Linked DNA regions of Homo sapiens: all the other regions are linked to region 1. Evidence: promoter capture Hi-C in 16 types of primary human blood cells and fetal thymus (Javierre and others, 2016). All regions are on one chromosome and are shown on one strand. The core of a region is centred on a gene start or on the middle of the fragment in contact, and the rest is flanking DNA. Distances in the headings are between cores, read along the strand shown. Region 1 holds the start of ZNF561 (zinc finger protein 561). Region 2 overlaps LOC124904635 (a long non-coding RNA gene). Region 3 holds the start of UBL5 (ubiquitin like 5).

Region 1 (2,712 bases), core at 149-2,648:
TACCTCTATCTATCTATATCTATCTATATTTATCTATCTATATCTATCTATCTATATATCTATCTATATCTATCTATCTATATCTATCCTATCTATCTATCTATCTATCTATCGAGACAGGGTCTCACTCTGTTGCCCAGGTTGAAATCCAATGGCACTAACACAACTCTCTGTAGCCTAGACTTCCCGGGCTCAAGTGATCCTCCCACTTCAGCCTCCTGAATAGCTGGGACCATAGGTGCGTATCATCACTCATTATTATTATTATTATTTTGAGACAGAGTCTCACTCTGTTGCCCAGGCTGGAATGCAGTGGCATGATCTCAACTCATTGCAACCTCTGCCTCCCAGGTGCAAGCGATTATCAGGCCTCAGCCTCCCGAGTAGCTGGGATTTCAGGTATGCACTACCATGCCTGGCTAATTTTTGCATTTTTAGTAGAGACGCAGTTTCGCCATATTGGCCAGGCTGGTCTTGAACTCCTGGCCTTAAGTGATTCTCCCACTTCAGCCCCCCAACTAGCTGGGACTACAGGTGCACACCACTGGGTCCGGCTAATTTTTTGTAGTTTTAGTAGAGACAAGTTTTCACCAGATTGCCTAGGCTAGTCTCAAACTCCTGGGCTCAAACAATCCTCCTGACTTGGCCTCCCAAAGTGCTGGGATAATAAGCATAAGCCACGATGCCTGGCCCATTACTTCTATTTAATACTGAAAAAAACCTACACTCAAACAACCCTAGTAGTCGGTCTGATACTTGTCCCTAGAGCCTGATCTCCTGTATATGGTGTTACCCCCCCGCCATATGACCAGAAGACAGTGCAGACCTGCACAGAACAATTCAGTAGTCACCAGCCACGTGTGTTATTGATAACTTCATTACGTACCTAAGATGACTTAAGAACAAAATCTAAAATTTTCAAAAGTCGGCCGGGTGCAGTGGCTCACACCTATAATCCCAGCACTTTGGGGGACCGAGGCAGACAGATCACCTAAGGTCAGGAGTTCAAGACCAGCCTGGCCAACATGGCAAAACCATCTCTACTAAAGATAGAAAAAGTAGCCGGGCGTGGTGGCACTTGCCTGTAATCCCAGGTACTCGGAAGGCTGAGGCAGGAGAACTGCTTGACCCTGGAGGCAGAGGTTGCAGAGGTTGCAGTGAGCCGAGAGAGCGCGCAGCCTCTCCGAACTGGACGCACAGGGAGGACTGATAGTCCCTGGAGAAGCGAGTGAAGTGAAGCGGATCTGAGAGGCTCCTAGGCGACAGCGCGCAATCATTCCTTTGCCGCCCCCTGCTATCCCCGGGACCGCCAAGGAGGTGGAACTCACCACAGCCTGGGCAGACTCCACCACCATAAAGGCGAAACCGCACTGACGGAGAGGAGCCAGCGCCGGAAAAGATGGCGGTGGTGCGCTGACGTCACTTCCGCTTCAACACTCTGGCCGGGCGAGGCTCGTGGGCTCCAGTTTCAGCCACGTAGGACCGGGTAGAACACAGAAATTCTAGTTTCCTCTCGGGTGGGTGCAGAAAGGGCCTGGGGTTGGCTCAGGGAGGGGGATGCAGAACTAGGTCCAGAGAAAAAGGTGAGGTTAGAACCGGGCCTCCAGACGGAACTGTGGGCGAGGGGAGGGGCTCGTACTCGGGGGGTGATTTAGAGGAGGGACCCGGCCTAGCCGGTGGTTCAGGTGGCCGGTCGGGCTGGAAGGGCGGGGATGAGGGATGGGACGCATCCCCGGGGGATGCTCCTCCAAAGCTTTTATCGGGCGAGCGCAGTGGCTCACGCCTGTAATTCCTGCACTTTGGGAGGCTAAGGTAGGTAAATAGCTTGAGTCTGCTGGGAATGGGTGCTCGCTTGGTGTCACAAAATCAACACTGAGACAAAGGATCTCAGCAAGGCTAGTTTTACTTTCTGCAGAATGGGTGCCACTGGCTGGCAGTCTTGCCACCAGAGCACACATTAACAAAGGAGACAGGGTTTTTTTAAACTTGAAGTGTCCATCCTTCTGCTGTGTCCAGCTTCCATTGGCTGGAACGGGACCTCACCTTCCTGTACTTCACTGGATTGGCTAGCAACTTAGAACTTCCCAAAAGAGGCAATGGCAGAGGAGAACAAAGGAAGAGAGGAAGTAACTTGTGGACTGTTGAGAGAGGCAAAAACACTTCTAAATAGGGAAAGGAATAGGCCATGACCTAATAGTTGCTTGGACCAGTTCAGGCATGCCAGGGCAAATATCTAGGCTAAAATGTGGGAGCTAAAAACAGAGTCTATTGATTTCTTTATTACGGCTGGCAGAATTTAACAATATTACCACAGGTCTTTGAGAAAATTTGGCTTCTAAGAGGGATTACTATTTATTTCAATCAGACTGGGAGGAAAGTCCCTTTGAAGAGGAACCTGTATTTATTTCATTTTCTACAAGTCCAAGAGTTTGAGACCAGCCTGGGCAAAGTAGCAAGACCCTGTCTCTCTCTCTCTCTCTCTCTCTATATATATATATATAAACATATATGTATAAATACATATAAATATATAAATATATAAAAAATATATAAATATACATGTTCAAAATGCTTGTTCCCTGGTGCCATAAAGAAATTAGCACTTGAACATAAATTTAATTTACTCAGCAAGGCCATTTTTACTTCCTGCAGAAACGGTATACTCACCAGCAGTTTTGCCACGAGAGTACACCAAACAAAGGAGATAGGGTC
Region 2 (2,816 bases), core at 126-2,625, 180 kb after region 1:
GCCCAGGCTGGAGTGCAGTGGCGCGATCTCGGCTCACTGCAAGCTCCGCCTCCCAGGTTCACACCACTCTCCTGCCTCAGCTTCCTGAGTAGCTGGGACTACAGGCGCCCGCCACCACGCCCAGGTAATTTTTTTGTATTTTTAGTACAGACGGGATTTCACTGTGTTAGCCAGGATGGTCTCAATCTCCTGACCTCGTGATCCGAGCACCTTGGCCTCCCAAAGTGCTGGGATTACAGGCGTGAGTCACTGCACCCGGCCAAGATGGGGTTTTATCATGTTGACCAGGCTGGTCTTGAACTCCTGACCTCAGGTGATCCACCTGCCTCAGCCTCCCAAAGTGCTAGGATTATAGGTGTGAGCCACTGTGCCCAGCCAATTTTCGTACTTTTAGTAGAGACGAGGTTTGACCATGTTTGCCAGGCTGGTCTGGAACTCCTGACTTCAGGTTATCCGTCCACCTCAGCCTCCCAAAGTGCTGGGATTACAGGTATGATGAAAATGCTTTTTCAAGTGATAACTTTCCAATAGGGAAGGAAGGTTTAAAGGTAAGTTTCAAAAAGCACCTGCTTGAGATGAAATGTAATACCATAGGTCTCCAGAAGACAACAGCGCATCACTTGGTTTGCCTTATAAATCCTTAATTCTCAAAACACAGGAATTAAGAGAAACAGCGAACATTTGTAGACCTCTTCACCCTTCGTTAGGGGGAAAGTGAAAATAACTATTTGCTGGGCATCTCTTGTTCTTTTCTATTTTTATTATTTTAATTGATGTCCCATTCCAGGATGTTGGGCATCTATTGTTTCATCTGGACACTATTTTATATCTGTGATCTACTTTATTTATTTATTTTCCTTTTTTTTTTTTTAAGAGACGGAGTCTCCCTCTGTTACCCAGGCTGGAGTGCAGTGGTGTGATCTTGATTCACTGCAAACTCCGCCTTCCGAGTTCAAGCAATTCTCCTGCCACAGCCTCCCGACTAGCTGGGATTACAAGCACGCACCACTATGCCCGGATAACTTTTTGTATTTTTAGTAGAAACGAGGTTTCACCGTGTTAGCCAGGCTGGTCTCGAACCCTTGACATCAAGTGATCCGTCCGCCTCGGCCTCCCAAAGTGCTGGGATTACAGGCGTGAGCCACCGTGCCCGGCCTATTCATTTTTCTTTTTTCTATTTCTTTTTTTTTTTATATAGAGAAGGAGTCTCAGTCTGTCACCCAGGCTGGAGTGCAGTGGCGCCATCTCGGCTCACTGCAACCTCCGCCTCCCAGGTTGAAGCGATTCTCCTGCCTCAGCCTCCCGAGTAGCTGGGATTACAGGTGTGCACCACCACGCGCAGCTAATTTTTGTATTTTATTGGGTTTTTGGTTTGTTTTGTTTCGTTTGAGACAGAGTTTTGCTCTTGTCGCCCAGGCTGGAGTGCAATGGCACCATCTCGGCTCACTGCAACCTCCGCCTCCCGGATTCAAGCTATTCTGGTGCCTCAGCCTCCCAAGTAGTTGGGATTACAGGCGCCCGCCACCACGCCCAACTAATTTTTTGTATTTTTAGTATAAGCGGGTTTCACAATATTGTTCAGGCTGGTCTCGAGCTCCTGACCTCAGGTGATCCACCCGCCTCGGCCTCCCAAAGTGCTGGGATTACAGGCTTGAGCCATCGCGCCCGGGCTATTTATTTTTCTTTTTTTAATTTTAATTTTAATGTTTCATAGAGACAGGGTCTCCCCATGTTGCCCAGGCTGGTCTAGAACTCCTGGGCTCAAAGGACCCTGCCTCAACCTCCCAAAGTGCCAGGATTACAGGTGTGAGCGACTGCGTCTGGCCTACATTTGTGATTTAAATCAGCACATTTCTCATCTCTCAGAACTCCTCAATAACCATCGGTTGGAAAAAAGAGCAAAAAACCTAAATGTATTTATATGTAATCTCTAGGAGTTAACCTCACCGAAAGATACAACCGATTTAAGAAGAAAATGTTAAAACTCTCTTCAAGGGCCTATAGAAGAAACGGGATGAATGGAAACGTGATTCACTCTGTGGACTGGCAGATACCTCTGGAAATCTGGTGTTCTATTGTAATAAGTTCTCGGGAAGGTAGAGACTTTTATTTGGGACATAGAGGCTTGGCCAACCAGAATGGAGGACCCACCCAAGTCCCGCCCCCAAGCCTGAGCCCTCTCCTTTGCTCCACCCACTCTGCCTGAAGTCCCCTCAACCCCTCCGACTTCGCAGTCTCCCAGCCCGGCCTTCTGGGGCTGGTCTTCATTGGAAGCCACGCCCCCAGGTCTGTCGGATAAACATTTTACAACCTATTCTCTCTGAAGTCTAGTACCTGGAGGCTTCCTCTGGAAATAAGAACTTGGGTCTCCCGCCTGGCCAACATGACGAAACCCCGTCTCTACTAGAAATACAAAAATTAGCCGGTCGTGGTGGCACACACCTGTAATCCTAGCTACTCAGGAGGCTGCGGCAGGAGAATTGCTGGAACCCGGTAGGCGCAGGTTACAGTGAGCTGAGGTCGTGCCACTGCACTCCAGCCTGGGCGACAGAGCGAGACTGCGTCTCCGAAAAAAAAAAAAAAAAAAATTAGCCGGGCATGGTGGCGGGCGCCTGTAATCCCAGCTATTCTGGTGGCTGAGCCAGGAGAATCGCTTGAACCCGGGAGGTGGAGGTTGCAGTGAGCCGAGATGGTGCCATTGCACTCCAGGCTGGGCAACAAGAGCGAGACTCCATCTCAAAAAAGAAAAAAGAAAAAAAAAAAAAAGAACTTGGGTCTCCACAACCTCAAGCCTCCTCTCAAAAAAAGAAAAAAAG
Region 3 (2,801 bases), core at 254-2,753, 210 kb after region 1:
GCGGATCACGAGGTCAGGAGATCGAGACCATCCTGGCTAACACAGTGAAACCCCGTCTCTACTAAAAATACAAAAAAATTAGCCGAGGGTGGTGGGGGGCGCCTGTAGTCCCTGTTACTCGGGAGGCGGCTGAGGCAGGACAACGGCGTGAACCCGGGAGGCGGAGCTTGCCGTGAGCCCAGATCACGCCACTGCACTCCAGCCTGGGCGACAGAGCGAGACTCCATAAATAAATAAATAAATAAATAAATAAAATTAAAAAAAAAACAGTAAAAATCCCACGGCCGGGGAAATCAGGACCAAACCAGTAAGGAGCAGCTCTTTAGGCATAAGCACGCGCATTAAAGACAAAAAGTATCCTTAACATGATAAGGATAACCAGCTCATTAGCGCTCATGCATATGGACGGCATATCATGAATGGAGGCGGCTCTCAAGCACACAGGGGCCAAAGTAAGCAACACACCTATCATTCAAAAAGGTAGACACTGGCTAGATATTAGGCAGCCTTGGGAAGAGAAAAAAAGCCTGGCCAATAAGGTGAAACCCCATCTCTACTAAAAGTACAAAAATTAGCCGGGCGTGGTGGCGGGCGCCTGTAATCCCAGCTACTTACTCGGGAGGCTGAGGCAGGAGAATCGCTTGAACCCGGAAGGCGGAGGTTGCGGTGAGCCGGCACCGCGCCATTGCACTCCAGCCTGTGCAACAGAGCGAGACTACGTCTCAGAAAAAAAAAAAAAAAAAGACCCAAACTATACCAAGCTGGGGCTGATCTTATCTCGCAGAGGTCAGTCCGCTCTCCCCACTCCGAGAGTGGAATACTGTGCTTAATAAACTTGCAGCTTTGCCATCTCTGTGTGTCTGGTCCAAATCTTTCTTCAGGACACCAAGAGCCTGGAACTGTCCGGCACCATGCGGTAACAGCAGCTGTTGGGCAGCGTAGAGTCTACTCTAGGATCAAGCTTCGCCTACTGACTGGAGTCCGTATCCCGGGGGAACGCGATGGCCAGAGGGAAGAGGTGAGCCAAATGCTCACCAAGCCCAGCCCTGAATGAACCCAGGGGGTCAGAAGGGATGACTGCAGAACTCGTCCCCCACCCCCACCCTCCGCCCTTGCTCCTAGTTGCCGCTGCAAGAGGCTTCGGGCTCAGGATCAGGAGCTTACCCCTACTCCCGGGACCCTCTGGCGTCCCCACCATGTGACCGAGTCTCCCTGCAACAAACAATGACTTCAAACGAGCTGGGCGCCGGCGCCTGACCTCTGACTCTCGCTCCACGCCCCTTCCCTGGCCACAAACCCGCCGAGGCCCCCCTCTCTACCCGGCGCGCCTACCACAGGCGCGACACCTGTCAAGCCTTGGGACACCGAAACCGTACCTGGGAACAGCAAACACACCACAGACTGCAGACCCGGAAGAACTTGTCCCAGTGTTGACCACACCCCCTGGCTAGGGGCAGGGCTTCCGGCCTCGAACTTTAACTTCCGCTTCCGGTTCCTAGCGTTAACTGCGACCGGGGTTCAGCGCTCGGGTGAGGAGCTGGTGGCGTCGGCAGGTTCGAGGCGATTCGAGGTGAGGGGGTCAAGCGGAGAGGCTCGGAGTCGGAGAAAGCTGTCGCGACCCAGCCACCCAGGGTCTGGGGTCGGTGGGAGGTGAGGCCAGGGAGTTTTGTGGCAGGGCTTTCAGGCGGCGAGAAGGGGCGGAGGCGCGGCTCCCCGGGGTTCGCGGCCCTGGGACAGGGGACTTGGGGCCTGGGAGTATTCGAGTCCGGGGGGTTGGGGGCAGAACGGAAGGCTCAGTAACCTGGAATTTTAGGGCCTGGGACTGGGAGACTTGTAGGCTGGGGCTTCTGGGCCTGGGAGACGCCTGAAGCTCTGACTTTGCTGCCTCCCACCCACCCCCCGCTTTGTGTAGCTCCAGCTAGGATGATCGAGGTTGTTTGCAACGACCGTCTGGGGAAGAAGGTCCGCGTTAAATGCAAGTATCCACTGGCAGCCGAGAGGCAGTGGTACCCGCAGGGGTGCTTGGCGTGAGGCAGGCAACTCAATCTGTGTTGTCGGATGGTTTTAGTTAAACCCGGGAGAGGGGGCGGATGGGGTCCTGGCAGATGGTATTCTGCCCTAGAATGTCCTCTTCCTCGTTCTACCGCTTCCATTTGCCTTAACTGCTCTGCGCCCAGCACGGATGATACCATCGGGGACCTTAAGAAGCTGATTGCAGCCCAAACTGGTACCCGTTGGAACAAGATTGTCCTGAAGAAGTGGTGAGTGCAGCGGTAGAGCCACTGGGTGGACTGGACTAGGCCGGAAGGTTTTGGTTGGGGGAGCGCTGCAGGCAGCCCTTTGCTTAGGCTTGGCTACCTCATTTGGCCTACAGACTGAAGAGCCTCCTTAGCCTTATCTCTGAAATGTCTCTTTTTCTTAGGTACACGATTTTTAAGGACCACGTGTCTCTGGGGGACTGTATCCTTTGTGTGACTTTTTGAGGAAGCATCTACATACCCAGCCTCGGTTATCTGTTCAAAACTAAAGTCTGCATGAGCTTATGCATATTAAGTGTTTAACTTAATACGTGGCACATGGTGAGCACTTAGAAAATGGGAGCTAGGTAATTATTTGGTTGGGGAGGAGAGTGGTTGGTGAAATAGTTTGACTTCAAGTTCAAAATATTTATTACTGACCTCCACCTGAGTGCTGGACAGTAGGTCAGGGTGGGGTGAGACTCAGGCATATCTATTGTGCAAAAGGAGCAGAAACTTTTTACAATTTTTATTTTATTTATTTATTTTTTTGAGACAGTCTGG

What was found. Contacts are between HindIII fragments. The CHiCAGO score rates a contact against its expected background, and 5 or more counts as called.
Region 2: a fragment that was not itself captured here is called in contact with the fragment with the promoter of ZNF561 in region 1 in 17 of 17 cell types (non-activated CD4 T cells, naive CD4 T cells, activated CD4 T cells and 14 more); the score reaches 19.3 in non-activated CD4 T cells.
Region 3: the fragment with the promoter of UBL5 here is called in contact with the fragment with the promoter of ZNF561 in region 1 in 15 of 17 cell types (fetal thymus, naive CD4 T cells, total B cells and 12 more); the score reaches 13.1 in fetal thymus.

Annotation. Positions count from the first base shown.
Region 1 is chr19:9,619,834-9,622,545 of GRCh38, forward strand. It overlaps ZNF561 (zinc finger protein 561), which reads right to left and starts at 1,399. Exons shown (of 6, transcript NM_152289.3): 1 at 1,329-1,399. ZNF561-AS1 (ZNF561 antisense RNA 1) reads left to right here and starts at 1,649. Exons shown (of 4, transcript NR_122038.1): 1 at 1,649-1,812. RefSeq lists enhancers at 578-1,160, 1,309-1,728. The HindIII fragment of the contact is 2,809 bases long and covers 1-1,751 here.
Region 2 is chr19:9,799,988-9,802,803 of GRCh38, forward strand. LOC124904635 (a long non-coding RNA gene) reads left to right here. Exons shown (of 3, transcript XR_007067134.1): 3 at 1,935-2,429. Among named protein-coding and RNA genes, the nearest start is that of FBXL12, 18 kb to the right of the region's middle. The HindIII fragment of the contact is 5,219 bases long and covers 1-2,816 here.
Region 3 is chr19:9,826,415-9,829,215 of GRCh38, forward strand. UBL5 (ubiquitin like 5) reads left to right here and starts at 1,504. Exons shown (of 5, transcript NM_001048241.3): 1 at 1,504-1,570; 2 at 1,913-1,979; 3 at 2,178-2,261; 4 at 2,423-2,460. The coding sequence starts at 1,924. RefSeq lists enhancers at 1,086-1,810, 1,221-1,270 and a silencer at 1,314-1,620. The HindIII fragment of the contact is 5,434 bases long and covers 960-2,801 here.